2 separate regions of the Homo sapiens genome follow, and region 2 is linked to region 1. The links are contacts of gene promoters, found by promoter capture Hi-C in human tissues and cell types (Jung and others, 2019). All regions are on one chromosome and are shown on one strand. Each heading gives the region's core, a stretch centred on a gene start or on the middle of the fragment in contact. The rest is flanking DNA. Distances are from core to core; before and after follow the strand shown. Region 1 holds the start of LRP6 (LDL receptor related protein 6). Region 2 overlaps PRH1-TAS2R14 (PRH1-TAS2R14 readthrough).

Region 1 (6,149 bases), core at 1,615-4,114:
GCAAACTACATCTCATATTATTTCACCATCCTAATGCCTATTTTAGTGCACTTACTTTTGGTCTTTGCTCAAATATGTGCTATATATATGTGTGTGCATTTATGTTTGTATATTATATATATTTTTATTTTACATAGCTATAATCAAATGTACATGCACTTTCACTTTTTAAAAGCTTAACTCGGCCGGGCGCGGTGGCTTACGCCTGTAATCCCAGCCCTTTGGGAGGCCAAGGAGAGCGGATCACTTGAGGTCGGTAGTTCGAGACCAGCCTGACCAACATGGAGAAAGCCCGTCTCTACTAAAGATACAAAATTAGCTGGGTGTGGTGGCGCATGCCTGTAATCCCAGCTACTCAGGAGGATGAGGCAGGACAATCACTTGAACCTGGGAGGAGGAAGTTGTGGTGAGCCGGGATTGTGCCATTTTACTCCAGTCCAGGCAGCAAGAGCACAACTCCGTCTCAAAAAAAAAAAAAAAAAAAAAAAAAGCTTAACTCACTATAAACATTCAACACTGTTGCATAATCCTCTAAATTATTATTTTTCAGCAGTGTGTAATATCTCATTCCCCTACTTAGGTTGATAGTCTGAGGAGATTTAGGTTGTACCGCATTTTCTTTTTTATTTTATTTTATTTTTTTCGAGACGGAGTCTCGCTCTTTCGCCCAGGCTGGACTGCAGTGGCGCTATCTAGGCTCACTGCAAGCTCCGCCTCCCGGGTTCACGCCATTCTCCTGCTTCAGCCTCCTGAGTAGCTGGGATTACAGGCGCCCGCCACCGCGCCCGGCTAATTTTTTGTATTTTTAGTAGAGACGGGGTTTCACCGTGTTAGCCAAGATGGTCTCGATCTCCTGACCTCGTGATCCGCCTGCCTCGGCCTCCCAAAGTGCTGGGATTACAGCCGTGAGCCACCGTGCCCGGCCAGTTGTACCGCATTTTCTATTATAAATAGGGACAGATCCAGGCTTTGTGGGACTTGAAGCTTATACAATTTTGTATAATACAATTATACAGAAGAGGAATTCAAAATTATCTTTGTTTTGCAAATAGGACCATGTGAACATACCATAAAGGCCCCTCCCCAGACATTGGAAGGGGCCTGTGAAAGTGAAGGTTAACTTTCTTTTCTTTTTTTTTTTTTTTCTGAGACGCAATCTTGCTCTGTTGCCCAGGCTGGAGTGTAATGACGCGATATCGGCTCACTGCAACCTGCGCCTCCTGGATTCAAGCCATTCTCCTGCCTCTGCCTCCTGAGCAGCTGGGATGACAGGCGTGTGCCACCATGCCCGGCTAATTTTTTTTGTATTTTTAGTAGAGACGGGGGTTTCACCATGTTGGACCAGGCTGGTCTCGAACTCCTGACCTCGTGATCTGTCCGCCTCGGCCTCCCAAAGTGCTGGGATTACAGGCCTGAGCCACCCGCCCCCGGCCCAGTTTCCTGCTTTGAGGAAGCCAGAATACAAAACTCACTTGGTTCTTAGAAGCAGGTCATTTAAATAAACGGTGACTAGACCTCAGGTGAATTTGGGAGAAAGTGATTTGGCTGTTTCTGCTGTCCATCTACTTACAAACCTGCAGCACCTTTGGTTCAGCGCGCATTTCTTGGAAGGAGCGGAGTGGCTTAAGTCAGAGACCTGGATTGGGCTGAGGTACTGCTATTCATTACTTGAGTGGCCCTGGGTAAGTCATTAACCTCTCAGGTTCTCATTTTGCTCCTCTGTGCAATAAAGAATAAGTAACAAAACCTGCCTTTCCCCAGGGTAGTTTTGAGTGTCAAATATGATAACTTGTGTTCAAGCACTAGTGAACTCCAATGTCACTGAGGTACTTGTTAACATTGTGGTAGCAGCTCCACTTTCTTGCCCATCTGCCTCCAGGTAAGGGCGTGTGACAGCTGGGCAGGATGCATCTGATGGCTCCATTAGGGTTAACTGTTGGAGCGCCTCTGCCCAGACGAAAGCCTGGCAGGTGATTTCAGGGGGCGTCTGGGCCATTACTCCTGAATGCCCAATGCACTGGGAGTAGCAGAGGCTGTGCACAGTCTGAGATTCTAGGGAATCTTTTCCTTCTCAAGCTGAGAATTGATAATCGAAGCATGCCAAACATTCGTTATTATATGCAACTTGTAAAATCCTAAATAGTCTTGTCCAATTGTCCCTTTGCTCTTAGGTTTTGAGGCATTTATCTTGGAATTTTATCTGCCAGTTTAGAAATCTTTAGCTGGTCGGGCTTAATTCTGGGGGCAGTTTGTATTTCTGGGAAGGCGGGAGAAAAATGACAATCTCAGTTTTGAATTGGCGTTTTAATATCGTTCACCAGATCCACGCTGAAAGCCGGTGTAAACAGCGTTCAAAAATTCCGCCCTCCCAAAAAAAGGATGCTGAAACCGATTTCCAACCCCGAAGACGGAGCTCATCACCCCGCAACGGGATCCGCCGTGGCTCCCCGCGCGTGCACCGCGGCTGGGCAGTCTCAGGTGGCTGGGGGCGCGAGACCGGAGCCCCACCTGGCCCTGCCGGCGGCGGCCGCACAAAGAGCGGGGCAGACGGCTGCCCGGCCGAGCCGCAGAAAGTAGTCCCGACCACGCCGGCTCCAATGTTGTTCAACGCCGCCTCACGCCCTCCGCGGGGAGGGCCGAAGCGGCCGGTCCGGGAAAGAATCCCGCTGGAATGCGCCACCGGGAGGAGGCTTTCCCTCCCAGTTCGCCTCTGCTAGCCCAGAACCTCTCCCAGGGTCTCAGGCAGAGGCTGTGCGTGCGGTTGCCGACTCCCTTCCCTGGCCGTACAGGAGGCAGTACCGGGAGAAGGGGCTCGTTGCGCGCAGGGACACGGTCGCGGCGACCCTAGGAGGCGGTGCCGACCGTATCCCTGCGCCGCTGCGCGAGGCAGAGGCTGAATGAGGAGCTGCGCGGGGGAAGCGGGGCGCCGGGGGAGGAGGCGGCGGGATGGAAGCAGACGCTGGCGTCGCGCGAGCCCGGGGCCGAGCGGCGCGGTAGAGAGGGCGGCGGCGGCGCGCGCGGAACCTTGACGTGCCCCTTTCTTTCTTCTCTCGCTGGGAAGCTGGGAAGTATGAGCGTGCAGCCCTGCCGCTGCGGCGGCCGCCCCGGCTCCTCGCCTCCCCCACTTCTGGCCACCCCTCGCCGGTGAGAGAAGAGAACGCGAGAAGGGAAGATGGGGGCCGTCCTGAGGAGCCTCCTGGCCTGCAGCTTCTGTGTGCTCCTGAGAGGTGGGAAGAGTGGGGGCACTGGAAAGTTGGTGGGGTTCGGGGGGAGGTGGCCTTGTTGTATGTGTCTAGGGGGAGGGGAGGGACGGAGGAAGGGAGAAGGGGAGAGGAGCGGGGAGAGGCCTGGTCGTGGGGAGGGGGAGAGAAAGGGGCCCGGGAGCAGGGGCTGCGTGCACCGCCCGGCCACAATGCGGACCTGGCCTGGCTTCCCAGACCTTCCCCGGACACATCGGAGCTTCGATCCCGGCTGCTGGTCTTAGGGAACCCTTGGCACCCCATGCTGTCGGGATGACTGAGTGTCTGTGTGCCTCTCTCTGCCTGGGGTCTTCCAGGGAAAAGGGTCTTTGTACGTATTTTGGCTTTTAAAATGTTTGAGTCCGAGATGCTTTAAGGTTGGCCTTATCCATCGAAGCCCCGCCACCCACTCCCCACCCCGTTTCGGTGTTTCTTAGGTGAACTTTTAAAGCCCTCTTGCTATTTTTTCCAGGCCTTGTTACAGGTAATGATTGGCTTCCGTTTGGGATATAATGACCCTGGGTGAGAGCGCAGTTGGAAAGTGACTCCGGGGTTATAGGTCGAGCGTTTCAGCATTGGGAGCCTTCTGAGCTTCAGCCCATAATAAAATAAAACATTGCCCTTGTAACCTCTGGTATTCACGGCTTGCCCCTATTTTCGGAGTATGCAAGTGTACAGTTGGCACTAAGTAGGGAAATTCATCCTCGTGTGAAGAGGAGCCGGTCCTGGGACCAAAATGATAATTTGCTCTGCACCCCTGGGGACTGCTTGGCACTTTGGTAAATTGCATAGGCTGTTCGAGATAATTTGCTCTGGGAATCGCTTGAATTCGATGGCACTATGATGTTTTGAATTGGACTGCAAAGCTGACACATGCTCTGTGACTTTTGTGACAGTTCACAAAGATTTTTGACTGGCCCGTCGGCAGCTCTTCTCAAACTATTTAGTGTTGAACTTGAGATGGCTGTGATGGCTGTGGAGCATTTACCAGCAGAGGAATTTAAGTACTGCTCGATACGGTGGCTTGTAGTTTTGGTTTGGTAAAGTTCTTACTGGCGTTCATAGTAAGTTCTTTTCAGGCATGTGACCGCTGGTCGCTGGAGATTTTTAGGTGTTAACAAGCTAAACTTTTGTTAAGTTCTCCAAACTAATTTAAGTTTACAGAACACTAATAGTAACTAATAGTCTGTGACAGGTGTATATTTTTGCGTGTACTGTGTATATGTATTTCGGATGAGAATGATTGAGTTTTTTTTTGGAGGAGGAGAAATACTTTCTTCAGTTACTCTGTAGTAATGCAGCATTGTGTTTGCATGTTATATTACTTGATACTCTAAGCATATTACAAAGTTTTCCCACATGTAAACCCCGGAAAGGTAGTGTTCATTAGATTTTTGTGGCAGAAATTTTAATGAAGTGTTACGTACTGGAGAGGTTTCATAAGTATATACTTATTTTATTATTGGCATACTCTATTGAAAGGGGTTTTGCTGTAGCTGTTAGAAACAACTATATTTGACATAAGAATATGTATGTATTTTAAGACATAAGGTTAATAGGGCTGACAAATATGAGAACCAGCTGATTGGTTAGAGTCGTGGGAAAACTTATAACTTGGGATGTTTCTGGTTGTCTAGTTGTATTTCTTGGAGGAGAAGCGTGTGATGTAAATGCCGTTTGTTTAACACCAGCTTTGAGACCAGAGCTGGGTTTGTTCATTATTGGAATTTAGATAGGTTGCACTTATTTATGTAACAAGACCTGGAAGAGGTAATAGTTTAAATTGTCTCGTTTCCACTAGCAAAGTTTTCAGAAGTGGAGCTCTCGTTTTAAATGTGGCGAAATATGGTGTAAGGTGGTCTTCTAATATGTAACAGTACTGTACTTAGCTGTGAGTACATATTATTTGAAGTAAAACTGTCTTTTGATGTAAAATATTTTTGTTCATAATTTAGAATTAATTCATTCTTTGAGAATGTCATCCTCTGTTATAGTAAAGATATTTAGTCAACCTTGGACTCCAAGGAGAAAAATCTGATTGATTTGTTGCATTTAGGTCATTTTTTTCCCCCACAAAGAATTGGGGCTTTAACATTGGCTGGGTGTGATGGGGTATGTGAGAGTCTGGGAGACCTTCTGTCCTGTAGCCCTGTTGAATTAGTAGCAGAAAGCCAGGGAATACTGTTAGTGCTGTGTCCCTATCTCTATCATCACATGACAAGGTATAAAGGAAAGATTTGGGAATTTCAATACTAAAATCTTGGATTTAAAGCCCAAGTGTCACAACTTCATAACTTTGTGGTTCTGGTCTAGTCCGCTTCTCTAGGTCTCAGTTTCTTTACTGGTAGTGTGGATAATGATACCTGACTAGTTTGCAGGGTTATTGGGTGTTTTAAATGAAATAATATGGAGTACCTTGTTAATGTTACTTTTTGCTATAATTTTTGCTTGTTCAGGGACATATCCTCAAATGCTTTCATGATTTGAGATTTAATTTGTATAACGTTCACAATTTTTTTTTTTTTAAAGAGACAAAGTCTTGCTTCATCACTCAGTCTGGGGTGCAGTGGTGTAATCACAGCTCATTGCAGTCTCAAAGTCTTGGGCTTAAGTGATCCTCCTGCTTCATCCTCCCAAAGCTCTGAACTATAGGCACGTGCCACTATGCCCCCAATTTTTTGTAGATATGGGGTTGGTGTGGGGGTGTCTTGATATGTTGCCCAGGCTGGTCTCCAACTCCTGGCCTCAAGTGATCCTCTCAAAGTGCTGGGATTACAGGTTACAGGTGTGAGCCACCATGCTTGGCCAGGTTCACGAATTCCTATTTTTTTTTTGGAGGTAGGGTCTTGCTCTGTTGCCTAGGCTGGAGTGCAGTGGCATGATCGCTGCTCACTGCAGCCTGGACCTCCT
Region 2 (6,149 bases), core at 1,880-4,379, 1.1 Mb after region 1:
AGCTTGGGTAACAGAGGGAGATGCTGTCTCAGAACAAAAAAAAAGGTGGAAGTTCTCACTGGTGTCAAATATCAAGAGAAACAGGATCAAATCAATAATTAACAATCTTTGGTTCCTGCTTATAGCAAACAGGTAAAATTGAAAGTAGTTACAGAAATAGTATATTAACTCCTAACAAAACTAACCAATGAAAGTTTTATTATCATCTCCTTTTTGTTGTTATTTTGATACGGAGTCTCGCTCTGTCTCTCAGGCTAGAGTGCAGTGGCGTGATCTCGACTAACTATAACCTCTGCCTTCTGGGTTCAAATGATTCTCCTGCTGCAGTCACCGAGTGGCTCGGATTATAGGTGCGTGCCACCACCACCTGGCTAATTTTTATATTTTTAGTGGAGACAGGGTTTCACCATGTTGGCCATGCTGGATTTGCACTCCTGACTTCAGGTGATCCACCTGCCTTGGCCTCCCAAAGTGCTGGGATTACAGCCATGAGCCACTGCGCCCGCTTTTTATAGGTGATTATACTGAGGCAGGAGTAGTTGGAAAATGGAGTCTCAGAGCATAGCTATACCAAGCAGGGAATATGATTTCCTGACCTGGCGTCTGACTCCAAGATCCCCTCTTAGAAACAGTTATGCTATAAAAACTGAAAAGAAACAAAATCCAGGATTGGAGACTGATTTTAACATCTATTCATCATAAATCAATAAGTAATCAAAAATAAATAGAGAAAAGTAAAAGTGAATATTCATACACAGAGAAGTGTAAATTCTTCTATGGAAAACATGTTTTTTTAGTGCCCAAGGAATAGTTATACAATTGTTGAGGTTTTTCTTTTTCTTTTTCTTTTTTTTTTTTTTGAGACTGAGTCTCGCTCTGTCGCCCAGGCTAGAGTGCAGTGGCGCCATCTCGGCTCACTGCAAGCTCCGCCTCCTGGGTTCACACCATTCTCTGGCCTCAGCCTCCCCGAGTAGCTGGGACTACAGGCGCCTGCCACCATGCCCGGCTAACTTTGGTTTTGTATTTTTAGTAGAGACGAGGTTTCACCGTGTTAGCCAGGATGGTCTCGATCTCCTGACCTCGTGATCAGCCCGCCTCGGCCTCCCAAAATGCTGGGATTACAGGCGTGAGCCACCGTGTCCGGCCAAAATAGTTGAGTATTTTAATTAAATAACTAATATTTAAGTATTCTCAAGAGAATAACTTAGTTAAAGGCCTAAGCCTTAGAGATTAAGTTTGATAAACATTGAAAATGGGCTGAAAAGCCCGAGTAAGAAAATTAATTTTCATTTTAGAAGTTATAGGACAGTAATTTTTCCAAACCATGAGGGGTGTGTATGTGTGTGTGTGTGAATGTGTTTGTGTTAATGAGCTTGTTAACAATAAGTTGTACAAAATTATTAGTTAGCAGTAACCAGTTTTCAAGGAATATTGGCCTTCCTGGGCTTCCCAAGAAAACCTTGGACACTTTTGGTAGAAAAGTTGGGATTCACTCTCCATAAATCTGGCATTGAAAAAATGATTCAACAGTGGTCATGATTCTAGTTTTGACCAAGCTACATATAACAGTGTAGGCATCCAATGTATGATTTATGTATTAGGTTGGAAAATTTCCCTAACAACTCACATTGCTGAACGCAAATTATGGAGACATTAAACAAGGAAAAAATTGCAAAATGATGATTAAGTGTATGACTTGATTTGCATGCTAGCAAATGAGAATTCAGCTTTCACATCAACATCAGTATGAAAAATTTTATCTTATAACAAGCATATAGTATTTGAATAGGAGTTAATTTGAGCTGTTTTGGAAATTATCCTGTTTTCCATTAAGACAGCCTTGAACTCATTCAATAGCATTCCCCGGTGCTTTCCTGTTTGACATTAGCCAGAGAATTTAAAAGGAACAAGAACGTTATTGCACAGTCAGAAATCAGGAGCACATAGAAATTAAGGTCAGGACCTTAAAGGGAAACTTGTCCATTGGTATTAGGCCTGCCTTAAAAAATGCGGACATGGTATGTTTACTACTCATCATTATTTTCCATAACAGTAATGGTAGAATTTGTATTTTCCCATGGGCACCTTCATTAGGCTTATAGACTATTTTGATATTTCAACATATTATTTTCTTTGAGTCCTTTTAATGAGTTGTTAAACAATGCTAAAATTTGCCTTACAGTATACTGTTAACTAATCATATTTTCCCAAAGTCATTTGACATAATGTTTGGTTAAAGGAAATATGTCTAGTACAGTTACACTCTAGGATTGTAATCCTAGAATTGTAAATCAGTGCAATTACTTTGAGTATGGCATTATCTGATTAAGATGATGGATCACATCTGAAGACCCACTATTGCACTCTTATCAGAATACATATACACACACATGCATATCACTGAGTTTTAATTGCTAAAGTTGACAAGTCTGTCAAATGTCCATGGGTGATAAAATGGATAAATAAATTATTGCATAGTCATACAATAGAATACTATACAGCAATCAAAATGAACCAACTAGAGAGACGTTTATAAAGAATGTTAATAAAAAGGAAAATGAACAAATTTGCACTACATAGATACGAGAGATATTAAGATGGAAACATGATTCCGTATAATTACATTTATATAAAGTTTACAAAACTATATTTTTAATGAATTGCAATTTATTACATTGTTGTCGAAATTCTAAAGTGAGACCCAAGAGTGATTATTGTAACAACTGGCACAGTAGGGACGGAGGAAACAAAAGGGAAATGATATCAACAAGAAGGTGTATATGGGGAGTGTCTGGATTGCTGGTAAATTCTACTTCATGACCAAGATGTGGTAACATGACCCTTAATGCTATAATTTTTTTCTATACTGTACCTTCAGGCTTTATTAATTTATATATATGTTATGTTTCATAGTAATGAAAATATTTTAAAAGCAGAATCATATAATAAATGAATGAATATAAAATAGGCTGAAAAAACATTCTTGTAGACACCATGGTAATTAGAATTTTTGCTGAATAAAGAAGAATAGAGCATTATGATAGTAAGAAATCCAAGATAAAATTTTAAACTTTAAATTAATTTTAAAAAGGAAGAGATAAACAGGAAGTCTACCTCCACACTCTTAATGTTATTCTTATTTTGAAACATCAGATTTTGCACATCTGTATTTTGCTAGACACCTTTTTTTCTTATTTCCAATTTAGATATTTATGATCACAACATTTCAAAGTGGCAGAAATTAGTGAATTTCCAATATAGTAATATCGATATTAAATATACAGGACAATTTTCTAAATTTATCCCTAAATGAAATAATAATACACATATTTTTACCATTCAAAGATTATAATACCATGCATGTGTACACATGTGTGAGGAAAAATATTTTGATACTACAAATTTTTTGAATATTACAGGAGAATTAGTAGAAAGATAATTTTGTTAAGGCATAAAACATATGTAGTATAACTACTTGGACTGCTATAATAAAATCACCCAGATTTTGTGACAGTAGCTGAGAATGTAAATAAGCAGTAGAGAGAATTTAACTTGTTAATGATGCTATTAAAAGATGAAATGAAGCTTATTCACTCTATAATTGCAAAGAGTATTTGTGTAAGTTCATAGGAAAGTGGAACAAAATTAAACAGCCAACAAGAGAGTATTCTTTGCTGGAGGTCAATTTTACTGTAATTTTTAGAATGTGGTAAAAGAAAAAAAATAGCAAGTAAATCATTGGAAATGTGTCGGTTTTGTATTATTCTTGACGAAATATTATGTGAGGGTATTTGTCTAGGCCTGATGCTGAGAATAATACAAGAATTGTGCCGGGCATGGTGGCTCATGCCTGTAATCCCAGCACTCTGGGAGACCGAGGCTGGTGGATCACCTGAGGTCAGGATTTCCAGACTGGCCTGGCCAATATAGTGAAAACCCATCTCTTCTAAAAATACAAAAATTAGCTGGGCGTGATGGCGGGCACCTGTAATCCCAGCTACTTGGGAGGCTGAGGCAGGATAATCAATTGAACCAGGGAGGCAGAGGCTGCAGTGAGCCAATATTGCGCCATTGCACTGCAGCCTGGGTGACAAGAGTGAAGCTCCATGTCAAAAAAAAAAATCGTAAATCCATGAGAAAGAATAATAGTGTTCTCCCACTACCCTTAACTCTAGTACATTGAAAAGAAGACCCAAATCACATTTATCAAATAACATTCTCCCTTTTAGCTGACATTATCATCATTATTATAATCATCTACATTTACATCTATCTTATTAAATGATTTATTTTTGAAATATTTACATACATAATTTGGACAACGTTTACATAAGTTCTAAGAGATATCATTGTGGGAAATTTACGTTAGTAAACAGCAAAGTTCAAGTCAAGTTGAATACATTTAGATTTAGAAAGTTAAGTGTAGTGCAGTTTAAAATACATTGCTGAAGAAAACAATTATAGATGATATTAAACTAATCCAAGGAACACTATAAAAAGATTTTGATTTTAGTATAAATAAAATTGCTTAATAAGAAAAATAAATAAACCATTTCATGATCAAGCTCTTATTTCTAAAGAGAGGATTTTAGGGCTAAACAAATCAAATAAGTAAGCCCTCCCCCACATCTTCTCTATTTCATGTAGGTAATGATGGAGTTCAAAGGCACAGAGCCCCATTTCTACAACATAAGCAAAGTGAAAATTAATTCATGGAATACAATGACATAGCTGTGGTTGATGAACTATATTTTATCTATTGCAATGATATTTTGAAATGCAGTGCTACTCATTGAGTTTCCTTGTGAGGAGATTGTGTGGCGAGGACCCAGCAAGACAAGCTACTATCCCAAAAAAGCTACTTATATGAACTTCATTTCCGGTTTCTTTCAAATTGAAGGTAAATTCCAAGATGAAGCTTTTATTCTATTCTCTGACCAAAGTGTTGGAAAAAGAAGGAATTTGTTACCATTTTCATTTCTAACATACTAAAACAGAAAACAAAAAACCCCAAAATCAAAAACACTTTTAAAAAGAACATGGCGTTAAGATTAGTTTGTTCAGTTTCCCTGTAGAAAATAATTTATGGAAAGATAATAAAAGATTATTCTGAACACTAAAACAAGAAAACTAAAAAATGAATTATCAATATTGAGAATCCAATAGACAGAGTTAACCAGTTAGATGGAGTAGAAGAGATAATTAGTGAATTGGAAGATAGCTACAAAGAATGAAGCACTGAGAGAAAGATGGAAAATATAAGACTAGAGGGTAACAAATTCATGCTACAGTTGGAATATGTAACATACTTCTGGAGTTCTGTAAGATTAGAGGAGAGAAAATAGAGCAAGAGAAAATACAAAGTTGTACTGAAAATACAAAGTTGAACATGCAAGAAGCAATAAAATTAATGACAATGAAAAATAAGTGTGTAATTCTAAATAAATGTTGCCTGTAGAAAACAATAGTGTCTTGTTGGATTAATTGTATAATTGATAAGATATATGCAAATAGCAATAAAGAGACTGGAGATAAAGTGACAGGAATAAATTTAGTCAAACTGTTTTGGGCTTTTCTATGTCTGTGAGTAGAATTTGAATATCATAATCAAGGACCGTATAAATCTACACCCAGATATATATACACAAAGGAATTGTAGCAAATGATATGTGAAAGAATGTTCATTGTAGCATTATTAATAATAGCTCAAAAATAAGCTGCCCAAATATATATCAAATAAAGATGGATAAATAATTACAGTAAAATCATAAAATGGAAAAATATACAGAAGTGAAAATAAATGAATCACATGTACATGCAACCATGTGATTAAATTTCAGATACATAATGTTGAGTCCAGGAAGCCATGAATAAGGACATATAGGATTGCACCTATACACAGTTCAAAGCAGACCAAACGAAGCTATTGAGTTTAGGGTTGCATGCTTTGTTCGTAAAGTACAAAGAAAATAAAAAAAGATCATTATAAATTATGGATGTACTTATCATAAGAGGTGTGAAGAAAGGTGTAGGGGATTGGAAAGTGGCATTGAGGTAAACCTAGCCTCTTAGCAATGTTCCATGTCTCGCCCTACATAATGGTTACATGAGTGTTTATGATACATTGCTATGTTTTCCATTTTTGTTTT

What was found. The method cuts DNA at HindIII sites, captures the fragments that hold promoters and counts their contacts. A contact is called where the count stands out against the background at its distance.
Region 2: a contact is called between a fragment that was not itself captured here and the fragment with the promoter of LRP6 in region 1, in 1 of the 25 tissues and cell types used here (heart right ventricle).

What each region holds. Positions count from the first base shown.
Region 1 is chr12:12,263,759-12,269,907 of GRCh38, reverse strand. LRP6 (LDL receptor related protein 6) reads left to right here and starts at 2,864. Exons shown (of 23, transcript NM_002336.3): 1 at 2,864-3,227. The coding sequence starts at 3,173. RefSeq lists enhancers at 2,634-2,683, 2,221-2,857, 6,034-6,149 and a silencer at 2,864-3,173. The HindIII fragment of the contact is 18,079 bases long and covers 739-6,149 here.
Region 2 is chr12:11,122,822-11,128,970 of GRCh38, reverse strand. All of the region lies in intron 1 of PRH1-TAS2R14 (PRH1-TAS2R14 readthrough), which reads left to right. All of the region lies in intron 1 of PRH1-PRR4 (PRH1-PRR4 readthrough), which reads left to right. It also overlaps a transcript of PRH1 not described here. Among named protein-coding and RNA genes, the nearest start is that of TAS2R30, 8.7 kb to the left of the region's middle. The HindIII fragment of the contact is 7,268 bases long and covers 1-6,149 here.